Regions from separate parts of the Homo sapiens genome. Here all the other regions are linked to region 7. Evidence: promoter capture Hi-C in human tissues and cell types (Jung and others, 2019). All regions are on one chromosome and are shown on one strand. Each heading gives the region's core, a stretch centred on a gene start or on the middle of the fragment in contact. The rest is flanking DNA. Distances are from core to core; before and after follow the strand shown.

Region 1 (2,716 bases), core at 215-2,714, 460 kb after region 7:
CAAGTACCACTTTTCTAGGGGGCAAGAACCCCTCAACCCCTTCTCCTTCACTCTTAGTGGCAAGTACTGCTTTTCTAGGGGGCAGGAACCCCCCGACCCCTTCTCTCTGTCTTTACCCCTTCTCTGCTTTTCTGGGGGTCAAGAACCCCCCACCCCTTCTCTCCGTGTCTCTACTCTCTCTTTTCTCTGGGCTTGCCTCCTTCACTATGGGCAAGCTTCCACCCTCCATTCCCCCTTCTTCTCCCTTAGCCTGTGTTCTTAAAAACCTAAAACCTCTTCAACAAACACCTGACCTAAAACCTAAATGCCTTATTTCCTTCTGCAATGCCACTTGACCCAATACAAACTCAACAGTGGTTCCAAATAGCGAGAAAATAGCACTTTCAATTTTTCCATCCTATGAGATCTAAATAATTCTTGCCGTAAAATAGGCAAACGGTCTGAGGTGCCTGACGTCCAGGCATTCTTTTACACGTCGGTCCCTCCCTAGTTTCTGTTCCCAATGCAACTTGTCCCAAATCTTCCTTCTTTCTCTCCCGCCTGTCCCCTTAGTCCCAACCCCAAGCATCGCTGAGTCTTTCTAATATTCCTTTTCTACAGACCCATCTGACCTCTCCCCTCCTCGCCAGGCTGAGCTAGGTCCCAATTCTTCCTCAGCCTCTGCTCCTCCACCCTATTATCCTTTTTATCACCTCCCCTCCTCACACCAGGTCCGGCTCACAGTTTCGTTCTGAGACTAGCCCTCCCCCACCTGCCCAGCAATTTCCTCTTAAAAAGGTGGCTGGAGCTAAAGGCACAATCAAGGTTAATGCTCCTTTTTCTTTATCCCAAATTAGAGAGCATTTAGGCTCTTTTTCAACAGATATAAGAACCCAGCCCAGTTCATGGCTCATTTAGCAGCAACCCTGAGACGCTTTACAGCCCTAGACCCTAAAAGGTCAAAAGGACGTCTTATTCTCAATATACATTTTATTATCCAATCTGCTCCCGACATTAAATAAAACTCCAAAAATTAAATTCCAGCCCTCAAACCCCACAACAGGACTTAATTAACCTCGCCTTCAAGGTGTACAATAATAGAGTAGAGGCAGCCAAGTAGCAACATATTTCTGAGTTGCAATTCCTTGCCTCCACTGTGAGACAAACCCCAGCCACATCTCCACACACAAAAACTTCCAAATGCCTAAACCACAGTGGCCAGGCATTCCTTCAGGCCCGCCTCCCCCAGAAGCTTGCTACAAGTGCCAGAAATCTGGCCACCAGGCCAAGGAATGCCCACAGCCCAGAATTCCTCCTAAGCTGCGTCCAATCTGTGCAGGACCCCACTGAAAATCGGACAGTTCAACTCACCTGGCAGCCACTCGCAGAGCCCCTGGCTCTCTGACTGACTCCTTCCCAGATCTTCTCGGCTTAGTGGCTGAAGACTGACACTGCCCGATCACCTTGGAAGCCCCCTAGACCATCACAGACGCCGAGTTTCAGGTAACTCTCACAGTGAAAGGAGAAATTTGAACTAAGATGGAAAGGCTCATGGCAGGCCCTCAGAACCTAGATCAGGGATGGACCTTTTCTGCTGTCCAGAGTCTCCTGTTGTTGTTCTTCAGATCACCAGACTGGACCCTTTGGATACTGACAGCAGCTCAGCTTGGGCCCAGCACTATTCACAATGGCAAGGACTTGGAACCAACCCAAATGCCCATCAATTATAGACTAGGTAAAGAAAATGTGGCACATATACATCATGGAATACTATGCAGCCATAATAAAGGATGAGTTCATGTCCTTTGCAGGGACATGGATGAAACTGGAAACCATCATTCTCAGCAAAGTAACACAAGAAGAGAAAACCAAACACCGCATGTTCTCACTCATAAGTGGGATTTGAACAATGAGAATACATGGACACAGGGAGGGGAACATCACACACTGAGGCCTGTTGAGGGGTGGAGGGCTTGGGGAGGGATAGCATTAGGAGAAATACCTAATGCAAATGACGAATTGATGGGTGCAGCAAACCAACATGGGACATGTACACGTATGTAACAAACCTGCATGTTGTGCCTATGTACCCCAGAACTTAAAGTATAATAATAAAAAAAGAATGGATCGTATGATTAAAGAAATAAAGATATATAACATTAAAATTTTGAGCCATCATTTTAGGTAAATAAATGATTTATGATAACCTGGAATTCTATTTCATAATATCAAGTGTTCTAAATCTTTAACATATTTGATAGGCTTCCCAAAATCAAACTTCAACTTCAAAATTCTCTTTCCTGACTCCCAACTTTTAGCTGCTACAGAGGGCCCCTGAAGCACCCAAAAGAGAAATAAACAGGATTATCTGACATGTTTAGTTACACAGCATTGTCAAAATAAAAATTATGTTTAACTTCTTCAGGTTATATTTTAGTATATCATATTAAAATATGTTCCAAAATTGTATTGGATTTCTAAAATTCTAATGTTTGAGTATATGCTATCAATCATAATTAGAGTTACTATGTTAAGTTATTATAAACCACAATAATAACCAAATTTCTTTGTTAATCCTGTTTTTGACTGTAACTACCCTGGACATTTTGTTATTCAGAGACAACTGTTGTCTTGTTTTGATCCTTTTCAAAAGATGGTTTATAATCAGCTATAGGACTTTGACACGTGCTCTTAAATAAAGGTTTCTGATAACTTGGGAGATTGTGACATTGGAATA
Region 2 (2,774 bases), core at 132-2,631, 390 kb before region 7:
CAGTAATTTATTTCAACAAACATTGGTTAAGCAAGTTTTATGTGCCATACTGTGTTAAGCTCAAAGATAACTAGGATTCCTGATCTGAACTCTATATTCCTTTCTGGAGATTAGCGAGAGATACAATCAGACTTATATTGTTAGAATGCAAAATATATTAGTATTCAAAGGTACAGGAGTGGAAGGATAAGCTTATAGCCTTCTGCTGTTAATGCTAATAAGGGAGATAATTTTGTGGCTTATTTTCGAAGTGATTTGACTTAATCTTATTATTTTTCTGGGTTATTCATTTTGATAACTGTACTAGACCAAAAAAGCTGAAATAGTAGAGGTACACAGGACAATCTAGTTACATATCAGGAACAAATGCTTACTTAAAATAGTTCTGTGCTGGGTGCTATTATGTAGTATTTTAGTTTAACATGGCCTTTATCCTTTAGAGACCTAACATTTTAGGGCTAGTTGGTGGGCTAATTTTATCTAGTCCAGGGGACAAATACTGGAGATTGTAAATGCTCTATGCTTGTTGTGAAACTGCAACATAACTGTCCTTAGAGCTGATATTTCTAAAAGGTTTCAAGATGAAAAGGCTGGCTACTCTCATGGTCAGCTTCATTGTTATTTCTTTCAGCTCATTTTCCTTTTCTTGTAGAATTTGAAGACTGAAGTATATTAATTTTATGTATTTATTCAATAAGCTTATGTTGAACATGCAATTTTAAAAGTAAATGAATCAGAACACTTAATTTCTTGTAACTAAACCAAGTTGCTTGTTAGCCTTTGTTTGAGTTACCTTTTTTTTCTGTGCTTTGGCTTTTGTTTTTCTCCTATAGGATTTTTTTTCTTTTATGTTCTTCTTAAGACTTTAGTTTCACTGAACTCACTTGTTCATATTTCTTTCTTCTTTTTTTTTTTTTGAGGCTGAGTCTCACTCACTCTCCCAGGCTGGAGTGCAGTGGCACAATCTCGGCTCACTGCAACCTCCACCTCCTGGGTTCAAGCGATTCTTCTGCCTCAGCTTCCTGAGTAGCTGGGACTACAGGCTTGTGCCACCACGCCAGCTAATTTTTGTACTTTTAGTAGAGACAGGGTTTCACCATATTGGCCAGGCTGGTCTCGAACTCCTGACCTCATGATCCACCCACCCCTAAAGTGTTCATATTTCTTAATTTATGGCTGGGTTAGTTCTTTGTGTTGCTATAAAGAAATACTGAGGCTGGGTAACTTGAAAAGAGGTGGCTGGGTGGGGTGGCTCACGCCTGTAATCCCAGCACTTTGGGAGGCCGAGGTGGGCGGATCACCTGAGGTCGGGAGTTCAAGACTAGCCTGACCAACACGGAGAAACCCCGTCTCTACTAAAAATACAAAATTAGGTGGGCGTGGTGGCGCATGCCTGTAATCCCAGCTACTCAGGAGGCTGAGGCAGGAGAATTGCTTGAACCTGGGAGGCAGAGGTTGTGGTGAGCTGAGATCTGGCTATTGCACTCCAGTGTGGGCAACAGGAGTGAAACTCCGTCTCAAAAAAAAAGAAAAGAGGTTTAATTGGCTCATGGCTCTGCAAGCTTTACAGGAAGTATGTTGCTGGCTTCTTGTGGCAAGGCCTCAGGAAGCTTCTAATCATGGCAGAAGGCAAAGGGGCGTCAGCATGTCTCATGCAGTGAGCAAGAGCAAGAGGTGGGGGGAGGTGCCACACAGTTTTAAACAAAACCGTGAGGGATCCGCCTCCATGACCCAAACATCTCCCACTAGGCCCCACTTCCAACACTGGGGATTACATCTCAACAAGAGATTTGGAGGGGATGTCCAAACTGTATCAATGGCCCATCTCCATCATTAATTCTTGAAAGACCATTCTTTAGGGTTTGTGTATGTGTCCCTCATTTCTCATCTCTAATTCCATTCTCATTCCCACTAATGCATTAAGTGACCACTTTTGCAGTTTTTGTTTGTTTATTTGTTTGGTTTTTGGTTTTTTTTTTGAGACGGAGTCTTGCCCTGTCGCCCAGGCTGTAGTGCAATCACGTGATCTCAGCTCACTGCAACCTCCACCTCCCGAGTTTAAGCGATTCTCCTGCCTCAGCCTCCCAAGTAGCTGGGATTACAGGCACGTGCCACCACACCTGACTAATTTTTTGTATCTTTAGTAGAGACGGGCTTTCACCACGTTGGCCAGGCTGGTCTCGAACTCCTGACCTCATGATCCGCCTTCTTCGGCCTCCCAAAGTGCTTGGATTACAGGTGTTAGCCACCATGCCCGGCCCACTTTTGAATTTTTAACATACATCCTTCAGATTATCCTCTGTTTTTCAAGGTTTCACATATCTCTGTGTATATATACTTTATATATATAAATGGCATAGTGCTGTATGTCTTTTGTTTATTCCATGTTGCTATATACGTATTTAGTCATTTATTTCTAATATATAATATCCTATTATGTACCACATTTTACTTATCCATTCCCCCAGTGCTATGCACTCAGTTTCCTTTTGTCTCTTTGCTTTACTATCATAAGCAACACTGCAAAAAATATGTGTTTTTTCCCTTGAGGACTGTGGAATACTTTCTCTGGGGTGTATCCCCAAGAATTTACTTGCTATGTTATTGTATATAAGACTTAGCTTAATTAGGTTCTGCGTGTCACTCTCCAGAATGGCTACAAAGTTTACCCGCCCGCTACCAGTGCATGAAAAAGTAACTGCTTTACCATATTCACATGATGACTGGATATTATCCAGCTTTCTAATTTTTGCTAACTTGATGAGTATAAAGTG
Region 3 (2,904 bases), core at 39-2,538, 480 kb before region 7:
CTTCCTTACACTGCTCAGTGGTCCAGGATGCTTCATCCAACCTTCCCTCCTTTTCTTCTTTGAGATCGGACTTGCATTGCCATCTGACGGCTCTCAGCCTTCTCCTCCTGCCCATGTCTCTCACAGCAGAATTTTTCTTAATAAAATCTTTGCACATTTAATTCCATCTTGGTGTCTGCTTCTCAGAGGACCTGGACTAACACATCAGGCAATGGCAATGCCTACCCTAAAGAACGACTTTTACAGTTCAAGGCCAAAGTCCTTCTGTATTGGATAGCAGCAGCAACCCAAAGCAAGAACAAAGGTAGAGATCTGGACTCTCTAGTTGACCACAGGGTTTCTACCCAGCGAGAAGGATGATGATTTTTTGAGCTGGATAAATCACACCTGGATTTGAATATCAGCTCTGCCACTTAGGAATTTGGTGGCTTTGACAAGTTATTTAGCCTCCCTGTGCCTTAGTTTCTTCATCTGCAAAATGTCAACAATACCAATGCTGTCTCTCTGCATTTTTTAAGATTGAATAAAATAATGTAAAAAGTAACTAGTACAGAGTACAGAGCAGGAGCTCACCAAATGTTGGTTTCCTTTCCACACCCTTCAATCAGGCAGTATCATGCTCAGTTAACTGTTCAAAGGCAAGTCATAACTTGGCTGGATATGGGCTGCACACACTTTGTAGGAGTAAGCTAAGTGGTGAGCATAGAGTTTTCCCTTGCCTTTCCCTGATCTACTCTGGCCAGCTATTGCCCTCTTAGCTTCCTGGGTACTCAAGAGATGAGCTTTCCTGATGGGTTCCATAGAGATACCCAAGAAAAACACTGCTCTGAAGGAAAAAGATAAGGTTAGGCTAGAACCCCTAAAGCACAATGCGGTCCCAAGAGAAACAAGCTCTGTTATGTTTTCTGACAGTGACACAGGTGCCTATGGAGGAGGTGGCCCAGGAAAGGGACGGAGGAAGGAAGAAAAGAAATTCTGGAGAATCTGACAGAGGCAATTCAAGTTTCTGAAAAAGTTCTTTCTAGTGGTTTGTGAGCATGTTAGCAATAAGGCAGCACACATGGATGTCCATGTCCTAAATAAGTAATCTTTCCCCTTTGTTTCCTCTAGCCAAGATTGATGTGGGCTGGGCACGGATTACATGCATGTAATCCCAGCACTTTGGGAGGCCAAGGTAGGTGGATCCCTTGAGCCCAGGAGTTTGAGACCAGCCTTGGCAACTTAGGCTCTTGCAAAACCCCATCTCTACTAAAAAAAAAAAATAGCCGGGCATAGCAGCACGTGCCTGTAATCCCAGCTTCTCAGGAGGCTGAGGTGGGAGGATTGCTTGTGCCTGGGAGGCAGAGGTTGCCGTGAGCCATGATCGCACCATTGCATGCCAGCCTGGGCAACAGAGCCAGACCCTGTTTTGTTTTTTGTTTTTGTTTTTTTTTAATTGATTTAAAGAATGTTAAAGCACGTGATTGAATATGGAAATATCAGGAAAGATGTTTACCAAAATACCTTTGTGGCTGTCTTTGGATGGTGGGATTTCAGGTTTTTGATCTTTATAATTTTCTGTATTTGCTGCCTTCTGTGCTGCCCAAAGCTGCTCTCCCTTCTCCTCACCTCACCTGAATTTTTGTGTTGTTCTGCGATGGCGCCTCTTGGCCTCCAGCTTCCATAACCTTCCCAAGTGCTCTGCCCCAGATATCCCCACTTTTAACCAGCTTTTTTTCTCTTTAAAAATTCTCTGGACAAAGTCTGCTCCTTCTGGCCAGATGTGGTGGCTCACATCTGTAATCCCGGCACTTTGGGAGTCCAAGATGGGAGGATCACTTGAGGCCAGGAGTTCAGGAGCAGCCTGGTCAAGATGGTGAGACCCTATCTCTATTTTAAAAATTAAAAGATACGTCGGCACAGTGGCTCACACCTGTAATCCCAGCACTTTGGGAGGCAGAGGTGGGTGGATCACCTGAGGTCAGGAGTTCAAGACCATCCTGGCCAACATGGTCAAATCCCATCTCTACTAATAATACAAAAATTAGCCAGGCGTGGTGACACGTGCCTGTAATCCCAGTTACTCAGGAGGCTGAAGCAGGAGAATTGCTGGAACCTGGGAGGCGGAGGTTGCAGTGAGCTGAGATCACTCCACTGCACTCCAGCCTGGGCGACTAAGGGAGACTCCATCTCGAAAATAAAAATAAAAGAAAGTCTCCTCCTTCTGTTGTTCTCACACACTTCGCGTTGGCATCTTCCCTTCCACACACATTCTAAACTCCAAAGGGCCTTGATGATGAGGAGGCTCTTTGAAGAAAATCTCTAGTCAGCCCAAGCCTAACCCTATCCCTGCAAAAATCATGTTGTGGTTGGAAGTGTGGATTACTGGTAAATATTGCTGTGTGGAGAAGATTACAAAGTTTTTTTTACCTGTCAGAAAGTAAAAATATAAGCTTAACCCTGTAAGCTTATATTTTAAACTTTAAACTCTATAAACTCCCTGTCAGCTAGAAATGTTCTAGAAAACATTATTTAAAAGCTGGGATACTCCCTAGAGAAAAATTACCTTTACTGCCATGTTAGGCAAAAACATCTGATGAGGCACGGTGTTCTGTGTAAAAACTGAGGTGGTCCCAAACATGGACCAATAGTTAAATCATTTATTTCTTAATATAATACCCTTTGCCTGGTCCACAAAGTAAATTAACTTGTAAATCTAATGAGTACATGAAAATCTCAGCAAGCTCATCTGTGATCCACTCTCCGTCCATCTTCCAGCCAATCCCTCAGCTGCCTGAGGAGGGTCTCAGCCCCGGAACCCTCAGGTCCCTTCTCACCTCTTCTCCTCTAATTGACCTGCCCTCCCCTCTTCCTTCTCCTACTTCCTTCTCATCCTCAGATTTGAGAGGCGGGAGGGGATGGGAG
Region 4 (2,989 bases), core at 29-2,528, 410 kb before region 7:
TGAGACAGCGTCTCTGTCATCCAGGATGGAGTGCAGTGGCATGATCACAGCTCATGGTAACCTCAACTTCCTGGGCTCAAGCCATCCTCCACCTCAGCCTCCTGAGTAGGTGGGACTGCAGGCATGCACCACCATGCCCAGATAATTTTTTAATATATTTTGGTAGAGATGGAATTTCACCATCCCAGGCTGGTCTGGAACTCCTGAGCTCAAGCAATCCACCCACCTCTGCCTCCCAAAGTGCTAGGATCATAAGTATGAGCCACTGTGCCCAGCCTGAGAATATGGGAATTTTTAAAGAGAAGGCTATATGTTTTTTAAAATGTCATTAAACAACAACCTTATGTAATCAAGCTTTTCTTTGACTGGTCCCTCAATGGTTATAAGTTCCTGTGGTTTGTAGAAAGTAACTAGAGATAAAAAGATAGATGAATCTTCTGTCCAATCTGCCTTGTCTCATTTGCGATTTGAAGTGAAACATCATGCATTTATAATGCAAAACTTTTATTCTTTACCTATCCCCAGATGTGAAAAAAGAAACTGCACCAAAATCTTAGGAAACAGAAGAAAGAAATTAAAAGATGGAGATCAGGAAATGTATGTTAAAGGATCAGGGCAAGGAGGAAAGAAAAGGGTTCTGAAAGACCTCTATTCATTCCATTAGATAAGTTGCTTAAACAAGTCAGGAAGCAAGGGGCTTGAGAGACTCTAAGATTTTTGTCTTATAATGTTTTAAAATTTTTAAGTTAACAGCTGAGTTACATATTTGATCAGTTAATGACAATCATATACAGCGTATATGATTTCAAGTTCTTAAAATGGAAAAGAGGGAATATTGCATAAGGGAATGTTTTGGTTAAGATAATCAGGACTTGAGCAATATCCTCCTGCATTCTCAAGATAATAAAATCTGCCTTCTGGTTTTAGACCCAATGTTTTGTTTATATCCTAGATCATATCTCCAGAGATGTTTGAAGAAAATAAATTGTTGATTTTTAAAAATCACTACACTTTCTGAAGTGAGCTGAGTGAATGGCAATAACTTTTTTTTTTTTGAGACAGGGTCTCACTATATTGCCCAGGCTGGAATGCAGTGATGTGATCCCAGCTCACCACAACCTCTTCCTCCTGGGTTCAAGAGATTCTCCTGCCTCAGCCTCTTGAGTAGCTGGGACTACAGGTGCCCACCACCACGCCCAGGTAATTTTTGTATTTTTAGTAGAGACGGGTTTCACCATGTTGGCCAGGCTGGTCTCGAACTCCTGAACTCTGGTGATCTGCCTGCCTCGGCCTCCCAAAGCACTGGGATTACAGGCTTGAGCCACCACACACAGCGAATAATGCCTTAAAATAGTTTTTAAGAAAAAGAAAATTTTCCTGACCAAATTCTGAACTGAGAAAGCAGTGTAATCTACATTATTTTAAATTAGCACTTCACAATGAGGTAAGCACAAAAAGCAAGGATTTTATTTTGTTTTCCTAAATCCAGCAGATTTTATTCTGTTCAATGAAATACTACAAAAGACACAAAGGAACTAACATTTACAGAGAGCCTTTTGTGTGATTTAGAGTGCCTCCTATGTTGTGGGCATTGTGTGGTGATTTGCAGTAAAAATAACCTTCGATATATTCCTGACAAGTAGATACTAGTATGCTTATTTTTCAGATAAGAAAACTGAAGTTAGAGAGGTGAAACAATTTGTCTGCGATCATATAACGTGTAATTGAAAGGACCAAAAAAATTTTTAATTCCAGATGTATTTTTGCCAAAGCATGTAATCATTCCACCTCCCCACCCTGTTCTCAGAGAGTTAACTGTCTAGTAAGGGATATGACAAATTCTCAAAAACATATAACAAAAGCTGAATGTTATAAATGTCTTTAGGGATACATAAACAGTATCTTGGTCTTCAAAGGAGAGAGATCTCATTGGGTTGGAAATGGAAAGCCCAAGGCTTAGCCTTCTGTGTGGGACATGGTTTGGAATTTCTTGGCACAGCAGAGTGGATACCACCACACCAGAATGGCCCTGGAGTCCTGCTGACCAATGGAGACCCATCTGATCAGGACACATGAGACAGTTGAGTCTGGCTGAGAAAAGAATAGGCCCAGCACATTTCCTACTTCTATTATGGGTACCTGCTAGCTTGGACTCTTGCCTAGCTCGTCCACTTGCACCCATCTTATCCACTTGCCACCTTTTCACTAACCCCAACCACTTTGATTTCTTTCTCAGTTCCTGAAATAATCCAAGCTCTCTCTCCACCTCCACTCCCACTTCAGGGCTTCTGCACGTTCCTGTAATCCCAATGTCCTCCAATACTGCAATGTACTCCAATTCCTCTCCCAGCCCCCATATTCATCAGGATTCTTAGATGGAATCACCAGAAACTGACTCGGGCTGATTTAAGCCTGAAAGAAATGTATTGGAGTGCATTGAGTGGCTCACAGAATTTCCAGGAGGGCCAGAATACCAGGTTTGGAGAACAGGAAGAAACAAAGCAAGCCTGGACAAACAGAGCTTCGGGCAAGATCACACCTGGACCCAGTCTAAGAGGGCCCCGTTGCCTTTGCCTCTGTAGGTAAAGCTGTCATACACAAAGGAAGCTGGAGTCGCTGCTCCAAAAACTGGATGTTGCTACCACAGTCACTACCACTAAAACAATTTCTCTGCTCTGCTTCTGAGTAGCACTAGTTCTTGATTCACTGACTTGGGCAGGTGACTCTGATCCAAGCCTGGCTCACGTGCTCATACCCTAACTGCTAGGAAGGCTAGGAAAGTCAGTAAATGGGCTTTGGAGAAGCCCGCCTCCTACCAAGACTCACATAGTGGAAAGTCCTCACACACAAGAAAAGAATTCAGATGCTAGGCAGCCAAAAAATTCCACTCCTCTATTCTTTCCTTGCTTGCCTTTTCAAGACTGACCTCTTTACAATCCGGGTCTTTGTTGAACTAACACCTCAAAGAGGCCTTCCCTTGACCACCTTA
Region 5 (2,906 bases), core at 321-2,820, 300 kb before region 7:
AGAGAGAAAAAAAAAGTAGCAATATTAATAAGACAATTCCCAAGCGTTCCCTTTCAGTTTCAATTATTTTACCTCCTTTTTTTCTTAAATAAGATACAAGTATTTTTATGTATAAAAAAATGATAATGTCATCTTAGTGAGTCACTAAATGTATCTGACACCAAACTACTGTTTTTGCTGATTCTTGTCGTAGTGTGGGAAGTGAATATCAATACTTATAATCACTCGCTTGTTTGAAGGGCTACCTTGAGAGTTGACTGTGACTCCTTTCAGACATGCTTACATGACAAAAGTCATTACAACTGGAGCAAGAGGTGGCCAGGCAGCCAGTTAAGAAACAACAGGGGAGCTGGTCAGGGAAAGGCCCCTGTGCCCGAGCTCCCTGGGGTCATGTTGAGATTGATCAGCAGCAGGACACAAAAGATGGATTTCACAACCACACCTTTTACTTATAAAACAAAACAGAGAGCAAAGGAGCAAAATAATCTTCCCCGGGGGAAGAAATTCAATTTGGCCTGAATATCACTGTATCCTCACTAGGCGGATGGAGTTGGCAGCCTTGTACGAGGTTCTGCTAGGGAATAATGCAAATACTTCCCCTTGGCATGGCCTTGCACCCTATTCAGATGAAACTAGGTAAACTTCCTGCCTTTGGAGGCAGACTTCTGAATGTTCTCAGTTCCTGCTAGCAAAGCTTGACTGGTAAAAATTAGAAAAAATAATCTCATTCTGAAAACTGACATCAAATGTCTATGGGGAAGAAGTCGGTGCTGACAGTTCCATGGAAATATTTACTTGGTTCAACCACTTGCAAACACCTGTCCACAATTAGACTCTTCTTCTCTGGCTGTTTTTCATTGTTGATTGGAAAGCACAAGGAAAAGCCTGGAAGGCAAATGCTGCCCCCATTTAAAAGTAGGAGACTGGGCCAAGTGTGGTGGTTCACGCTTGTAATCCCAGCACTTTGGAAGGCCAAGATGGGAGGATCACCTGAGGTCAGGAGTTTGAGACCTCACATTTACAGCCTGACTCTCTTTTTTTTTTGAGACAGTCTCACTCTGTCGCCCAGGCTGGAGTGCAGTGGCACAATCTCGGCTCACTGCAAGCTCCGCCTCCCAGGTTCATGCCATTCTCCTGCCTCAGCCTCCCCAGTAGCTGGGACTACAGAAGCCCGCCACCACGCCCGGCTAATTTTTTGTATTTTTAGTAGAGACGGGGTTTCACCGTGTTAGCCAGGATGGTCTCGATCTCCTGACCTCGTGATCTGCCCGCCTTGGCCTCCCAAAGTGCTGGGATTACAGGAATGAGCCACCAAGCTCGGCCTCAGCCTGACTCTTGAGTTAGGAAGGAGCTGATTTGGAAAAGGAGGAGAGAACCAGGTGTCCTTGGCTGCACCAACACTCCGAAAAGACAAAGGAAGGAAGGGGTGCATGTTTGCTCTCTATACAACCAGTAATGAACCATTACAGAGCTCAGTGTGGCTCTGACCAGCTGTGCTGGCCAACATGGTGAAACCCTGTCTTTACTAAAAATACAAAAATTGGCCAGGCATGGTGGTACACGCCTGTAGTCCCAACTACTTGGGAGGCTGACACAGGAGAATCGCTTGAACCCGGGAGGCAGAGGTTGCAGTGAGCAGAGATTGTACCACTGCACTCCAGCCTGGGTGACAGAGCAAGATTCTGTCTCACCAAAAAAAAAAAAGTGGGAGACTGGTAAGTACCAGAAAGGGGCTGCTACAAACAGCTCACTGCCAAGACTGAGCAGGTAACTTTACTGGCTTTTAAACACAAAACTGACTAAAATTACCATTGCTAGAGGAGAAAGGACTTGCTGGGCCCCAAATAAGGGCGGTAAGTTCCCTGGGGCCGTTTCTTAATGATCAAAGTCATCCCTGTCTTCACGAGCAAGAACAACGTGGTCCATCGCAACACTCTCAGGCCCAAGGGCTCCTACCACACAACAAGCACAGCACACTCCGGGAGCTGCTCAGGTTGCCCTGATGTTTAGCCAGAGCCTCCAGAGGAGAATGAGCCCAGCAAGGAAGAGCAACACAGTGAACATAAGCCTGGCTGGTCAGAGCCACACTGAGCTCTGTAATGGTTCATTACTGGTTGTATAGAGAGCAAACATGCACCCCTTCCTTCCTTTGTCTTTTCAGAGTGTTGGTGCAGCCAAGGACACCTGGTTCTCTCCTTCTATTCCAAGTCAGCTCCTTCCTAACTCAAGAGTCAGGCTGTACCTATGAGGTCAGAAGGAAGCATCTTAGTACCTCCCTGCTCTTACAAGGCTCCTCTTTCAAATGAAATCTCTTCTGTGCCTAATTTGGTATCTTAGACGACATGAAGGTTTTCATTCATGTTATTGACATTTATTGAGCACCTATTACTATTACACTGGCCACGTAGGAAAGGCAAGGATGAAGAGAATGAAACTCTTGCCCTCAAGAAGCTATTAGCCTAGTACAGAGGATAACAATTATGCAAATAACTATTAATAAAAGACAAATTTTTTTTTTTTTGAGACAAGCTCTCACTCTGTCACCCAGGCTGGAGTACAGTGGTGTCATCTCGGCTCACCGCAGCCTTGACCTCCCAGGCTCAGGTGATCCTCCCACCTCAGCCTCCCGGGTAGCTGGCTGGGACTACAGGCACGCACCACTACACCTGGCTAATGACAAAGTGTTAACGATTAGAAAAAATACAAAAATTGAGTTCAAGGTGGTTTGCTGAGGGGTACTGCTTACTTTGGTCTAATGAGGGCAATGGTAGGAAGAAGAGGGACAGCTTCACGACAAAAGCTCAATTTTCGGCCAAATCATGTAGATTCCAATATACAGAAGAGAGAAAGTAAGAGCATGCTAGATCTGTGCATGAGCATGAGATACAGCTAAGCAACTGATTTGA
Region 6 (2,841 bases), core at 254-2,753, 450 kb before region 7:
GGTAGTTGCTTCCTTAAGCATAGCCACATCCTTTAGTAAAGTAAAAGGAAAATGTGATTATAATATAAAGCAAATAACAGTGTATGGTTACTGACTCAGAAGAAATCACAGATTGGATATATAGGTCAAGTTTTAAAATGTTGATATGTGACCAAAAGGGAGTACTACTTAGGCATACCAAGAAGGAACTGGGGAACTCAATGAGAAGCCTCCCATCTCACCCAAAATGGCAGCTCAGTGAGGTGTCTGAATTGGTGATGGAAAAGCTGCTGAGACTGGACGCATAAAGCAGTGCCCTGGCCCAGTGGTCCCTAACTCTTTATGGTTCTGTTTGTGGGATTGTGTCTGTTGGTAGTGGCCTTTTGAACCAGGATCTGTAGGGTCTTCATGTTATTCTCTAGAATAGAATCTAGATTCTACAATCTAGAGTCTAGATTGTAGATTTTAGTGTTTGAGAGCCTCCAAGCTGCCCAGCTACCAAGTTTGAATTGTGCCCTCTCTCAAGGCTGATGTAGGGGTCCCCTTGTGTTCAACCCAGCTATTATCCAGTCAGATCAGACCACACTGCAGCATGCCACAGTGTGCCATGAGAAGTGAATGTTGGCTGCCATGTCATCGATCCTTACCGCATAACTCCAGAGATTATACACCAACTATTCAAAAGCAGTCCAGGCTTTTCTTTTTTTCTTTTTTTAAATTTATTTTTAATTTTTGTGGGTACATAGTATGTGTATATATTTATGGGGCACATGAGACATTTTGAAACAGACATACAATGTGTAATAATTACATCAGGGTGAATGGGATATCTATCACCTCAAGCTTTCATCCTTTGTGTTACAATCAAATAACTTTCAGTTATTTTAAAATGCACAATAAATTATTGTTGGCTATAGTCACCCTGTTGTGATATCAAATACTAGATTTTTTTTTTTTTGAGGTGGAGTCTCACTCTGTTGCCCAGGCTGGAGTGCAGTGGTGCAATCTCAGCTCACTGCAACCTCCGCCTCCCAGGTTCAAGCCATTCTCTTGCCTCAGCCTCCCGAGTGGCTGGGATTACAGGCACAAGCCACCCTGCCCGGCTCAAATACTAGATCTTATTCATTCTGCTTAACTATATTTTTGTCCCCATTAACCATCCCCATTCCACCTAACCCACCCCACTTACATTACTCTCCCCAGCCTCTGGTAACCATCCTTCTACTCTCTATCTCCTTGAGTTCAATTGTTTTAATTTTAAGCTCCCACAAATAAGTGGGAACATGTGAAGTTTGTCTTTTCGTGCCTGGCTTATTTTCTTTAACATAATGACCTCCAATTCAAGCTATGTTGTTGCAAATGATAGAATCTCATTCATTTTATGGCGGAATAGTACTCCATTGTGTATATGTAGCACATTTTCTTTATCCATTCCTCTGTTGATGGACACTTATCATGCTTCCAAATCTTAGCTATTGAGAATAGTGCTTCAATAAAAATGGGCATACAGATATCTCTTTGATATATTGATTTCCTTTCTTTTGGGTATATACCTAGAAGTGAGATTGCTGGATCATATGGTAGTTCTATTTTTAGTTTTTTGAGGAACCTCCAAACTGTTCTCCGTAGTGCTTGTACTAATCAACATCCCCACCAATAGTGGAGGAGGGTTCCCTTTACTCCGCATCCTCACCAGTATTCATTATTGCCTGTCGAAAAAGCCACTTTTTAAACTGAGGTGAGATTATATATCATTATAGTTTTGGTTTGCATTTCTCTGATGACCAATGATGTTGAGCACCTTTTCATATGCCTCTTTGCCATTTGTATGTCTTCTTTTGAGAAATGTTATTCACATATTTTAAAATCAGATTCTCAGATTTCTTTCCTATAGAGTTGTTTGAGCTTGTTATATATTCTGGTTATTAACCCCTTGTCAGATGGATAATTTGCAAATATTCTCTCCCATTGTATGGGTTATCTTCTCACATTGTTGATTGTTTCCTTTGCTGTGCAGAAGCTTTTTAACTTTATGTGATTCCATTTCTCCATTTTCACTTTGGTTGCCTATGCTTGTGGGGCATTACTTAAGAAATCTTTGCCCAGACCAATGTCCTGGAGAGTTTCCCCGAAGTTTTCTTTTAGTAGTTTCATAGTTTGAGGTCTTAGACTTAAGTCTTTAATCCATTCTGATTTTTTTTTTTTAGATGAAGTCTGGCTCTGTCGTCCAGGCTGGAGTGCAGTGGCATCATCTCGGCTCATTGCAACCTCCGCCTCCCAGGTTCAAGCGATTCTCCTGCCTCAGCCTCCCACATAGCTGGGATTACAGGCACCTGCCACCATGTCAGGCTAATTTTTTTGTATTTTTAGTAGAGATGGGGCTTCGCCATGTTGGCCAGGCTGGTCTTGAACTCCTGACTTCAAGTGATCCGCCTGCCTCGGCCTCCCAAAGTGCTGGGATTACAGACATGAGCCACCGCACCTGGCCAATCCATTCTGATGTGATTGTTGTATATGTTGAGATAGGGATCTAGTTTCATTCTTCTGCACATAGATATCCAGTTTCCCCAGCACCATTTATTGATGAGACTGTCCTTTCCCCAGTGTATGTTCTTGGCACCTTTGTTGAAAATGAATTACTGTAGATGCATGAATTCCTTTCTTGGTTCTCTATTCTGTTCTCTTGGTCTATGTGTCTGTTTTCATGTTAGTGTATATGTAGCACATTTTCTTTATCCATTCCTCTGTTGATGGACACTTAGGTTGCTTCCAAATCTTGGCTGTTGTAGATAGTGCTGCTGTATTGGTTACTATAGCTCTGTAGTATAATTCAAAGTCAGGTAATGTGATTCCTCCAGTTTT
Region 7 (2,700 bases), core at 62-2,561:
GGGAACCAACATCCACTTACAGCCAGGGTGGTGTACGCCACACCGCGAGGGACTGGCTGTATTGGTAGTAGTGGCGATGGGGTGGGGGCTCTTGTGCACTTTTTTGTACCTAGCACCCCAGAAGACAGAAGGAGCAGCGGCAGATCTTGCCTCCACTAGCCCTGCCCCCTAGGCCTGGTGGCGCGCGCTTTGGCCACTGGAGGTGAGGAAGATCCTGGGTGGCAACGAGAGACGTCTACACATAGATAAGGGAGCCTACCACAGGCCTGGGTTTGCTGCGGGTTTCGGTGTCCCCCAGGGACTCCTAAACTCTGGAAGTCGCGCTAGACCTCAGGAGGCCGGAAAATGACCACCTGGCGTCGGTGGCTCCAGCAGATCTGAGCCCCTAGGCCCCCTGGGCTCCACGCTGAGCCGCGCTCTCGGGGCGAGTGAGCCCGGGGCTCTCCGCGCATGGGGAGTGGAGAAGGGAGGGGGAGGAGGAGGAAGGCTGGGAGGGAAAGAGGATGTGTGTGTTGGGGGAGGGGGCGGTGCAGCCGCCTTTCCTGGGAGGAGAAGCGCGGGTTCCTGGCTCTCCACGCGCACTGCTTTAATCAGACCCGTGCAGCCTCGAGCTGGAGTGGCCAGCTGGGCCTGGAGCAATGCGAGCGGGCCCCAGGGAGCGACAGCGGCGTTGGCGCAGCGGCCGAGTGAGTGAGTTCGCAGGGAGGGCCCCTAAGCCCCGACTCCAGGGATGCGGCAGAGCGTACCGGGGAGGCGCGGCCGGATAGGCGCTGCGCTAGGCACAAGGCTCTTAGGAGAACCTCTGTCTGTTGGCCGCCTCGGGCGCCCCCAGTGCGCGACTCCGCGCTCCAGAGGCAGAGGTCAGTCTCCTCCTGAGCCGCCCTAGCTCTGCGCCGAACTGAGTGGCAGCGACGAGAAGCGGTCCCGGGTGTCCGGTGTTAGGGACCGCTGAAGGGTGGGGACAGTGGTAGGGGGGCGGCGGCGCGGAGCCGCTGGTTGGTTCCTGGGGAGGAAAGCGCGCGAGGGAGGCGGGAGGCCGATGAGCCGCGGGCCGCAGGGGCCCCGGCGCAGACGCCGCAGCCCATTGTGCTTCCTGCCCGGCGCGCTCTGTTGCAGAGGAGCCCCGGCCGGGAAGTGTGGATGCGTCTTACCCGAGGCCGGGCCGCCTCGCCCGCTCTAGTCCAGCGGAGCCCGAGCGCCTCGGACCAATCCCCAGTGATTATGCAAGACAGCGGACCAATCAGCTCCGCCAGCTCATGAATATTTATGACCTTCGCTGAGTCAAAGCTTTGAACCGAGTTTGGGGAGCTCAGCAGCATCATGCTTAGACTTTTCAAAGAGACAAACTCCATTTTCTTATGAATGGAAAGTGAAAACCCCTGTTCCGCTTAAATTGGGTTCCTTCCTGTCCTGAGAAACATAGAGACCCCCAAAAGGGAAGCAGAGGAGAGAAAGTCCCACACCCAGACCCCGCGAGAAGAGATGACCATGACCACCATGCCAGAAAGTCTCAACAGCCCCGTGTCGGGCAAGGCGGTGTTTATGGAGTTTGGGCCGCCCAACCAGCAAATGTCTCCTTCTCCCATGTCCCACGGGCACTACTCCATGCACTGTTTACACTCGGCGGGCCATTCGCAGCCCGACGGCGCCTACAGCTCAGCCTCGTCCTTCTCCCGACCGCTGGGCTACCCCTACGTCAACTCGGTCAGCAGCCACGCATCCAGCCCCTACATCAGTTCGGTGCAGTCCTACCCGGGCAGCGCCAGCCTCGCCCAGAGCCGCCTGGAGGACCCAGGTACGTGCGCTTGCCAGGGAGAGGGAGAGGAGGAGGTACAAGGGAGAGAGGGAAAGAAGGAGCGGGGGAGAAGAGGAGAGGGAGAGAGAGAGAAAGAGAAGAGAGGAGAGCGAGGTGGGGTGGGGGTGGGGAGGGCGCGGGAGCAGTGGAGGTTTCGAATATCAATCTATAGATCCTTGTCACAGCAAATAAATTTTTTTAAAAATTCCCTCAATTTGCAACTATCCAGCCAAGGATAAATCCCAGAGCGTCTCCTGGCACTGGCTGGGCCTCTGGGCGGCTCGGTGTGCAGAGCACACAATGCCCCGCTGGAAAACAGAAACCCACATGTGCACGTATTAGTCTCGGTAATTATTTATTGCGTAGCGCTATAAACAATGTATGCAATTAAGGGTAATTAAACCTCAACTACCGCCTGCAAAAATAGCAAACTTTCCCTGCAAAGGCAGGAGCTGAGCTCCTGGGAACGGCTCTATCCCTCCTGCAGCGTCCCGGGACAGGCCCTCGGATTTTGGGGGACCCTTCCCTGGCTTTCAGAGTTTCTTGAACGTTCTCTCCCTGGTGCTGCCTCCGCCACCCTTCGGTAGCCACTCGCTCTCGGCTGTTCGCACTAAAGGCGGCCCCTCGTATTAACAACGGGCCCTACTTCTGCTGTCCCTCCAGGGGCGGACTCGGAGAAGAGCACGGTGGTGGAAGGCGGTGAAGTGCGCTTCAATGGCAAGGGAAAAAAGATCCGTAAACCCAGGACGATTTATTCCAGTTTGCAGTTGCAGGCTTTGAACCGGAGGTTCCAGCAAACTCAGTACCTAGCTCTGCCGGAGAGGGCGGAGCTCGCGGCCTCTTTGGGACTCACACAGACTCAGGTACCTCGCCGCTGCCGCTCCGTTCTGCCACGCAGGCTTTCC

Evidence for each region. The method cuts DNA at HindIII sites, captures the fragments that hold promoters and counts their contacts. A contact is called where the count stands out against the background at its distance.
Region 1: a contact is called between a fragment that was not itself captured here and the fragment with the promoter of DLX1 in region 7, in 1 of the 25 tissues and cell types used here (spleen).
Region 2: a contact is called between a fragment that was not itself captured here and the fragment with the promoter of DLX1 in region 7, in 2 of the 25 tissues and cell types used here (dorsolateral prefrontal cortex and lymphoblastoid cells).
Region 3: a contact is called between a fragment that was not itself captured here and the fragment with the promoter of DLX1 in region 7, in 2 of the 25 tissues and cell types used here (lymphoblastoid cells and mesendoderm cells).
Region 4: a fragment that was not itself captured here is called in contact with the fragment with the promoter of DLX1 in region 7 in 1 of the 25 tissues and cell types used here (spleen).
Region 5: a fragment that was not itself captured here is called in contact with the fragment with the promoter of DLX1 in region 7 in 3 of the 25 tissues and cell types used here (H1 embryonic stem cells, dorsolateral prefrontal cortex and mesendoderm cells).
Region 6: a contact is called between a fragment that was not itself captured here and the fragment with the promoter of DLX1 in region 7, in 2 of the 25 tissues and cell types used here (H1 embryonic stem cells and mesenchymal stem cells).

The regions. Positions count from the first base shown.
Region 1 is chr2:172,542,776-172,545,491 of GRCh38, forward strand. All of the region lies in intron 1 of PDK1-AS1 (PDK1 and ITGA6 antisense RNA 1), which reads right to left. Among named protein-coding and RNA genes, the nearest start is that of PDK1, 12 kb to the right of the region's middle. The HindIII fragment of the contact is 3,343 bases long and covers 1-2,716 here.
Region 2 is chr2:171,693,139-171,695,912 of GRCh38, forward strand. All of the region lies in intron 3 of DYNC1I2 (dynein cytoplasmic 1 intermediate chain 2), which reads left to right. Among named protein-coding and RNA genes, the nearest start is that of DYNC1I2, 7.1 kb to the left of the region's middle. The HindIII fragment of the contact is 3,597 bases long and covers 1-2,774 here.
Region 3 is chr2:171,599,685-171,602,588 of GRCh38, forward strand. No RefSeq gene overlaps it. Among named protein-coding and RNA genes, the nearest start is that of CYBRD1, 79 kb to the left of the region's middle. The HindIII fragment of the contact is 3,544 bases long and covers 1-2,904 here.
Region 4 is chr2:171,673,258-171,676,246 of GRCh38, forward strand. No RefSeq gene overlaps it. Among named protein-coding and RNA genes, the nearest start is that of DYNC1I2, 13 kb to the right of the region's middle. The HindIII fragment of the contact is 8,060 bases long and covers 1-2,989 here.
Region 5 is chr2:171,788,205-171,791,110 of GRCh38, forward strand. The region is part of intron 15 of SLC25A12 (solute carrier family 25 member 12); the gene reads right to left. Among named protein-coding and RNA genes, the nearest start is that of DYNC1I2, 100 kb to the left of the region's middle. The HindIII fragment of the contact is 3,928 bases long and covers 1-2,906 here.
Region 6 is chr2:171,638,371-171,641,211 of GRCh38, forward strand. No RefSeq gene overlaps it. Among named protein-coding and RNA genes, the nearest start is that of DYNC1I2, 48 kb to the right of the region's middle. The HindIII fragment of the contact is 4,270 bases long and covers 1-2,841 here.
Region 7 is chr2:172,084,196-172,086,895 of GRCh38, forward strand. DLX1 (distal-less homeobox 1) reads left to right here and starts at 1,312. Exons shown (of 3, transcript NM_178120.5): 1 at 1,312-1,795; 2 at 2,459-2,658. The coding sequence starts at 1,483. RefSeq lists enhancers at 1-345, 346-957, 958-1,571, 1,421-1,540, 1,572-2,183 and a silencer at 1,031-1,140. The HindIII fragment of the contact is 6,806 bases long and covers 1-2,700 here.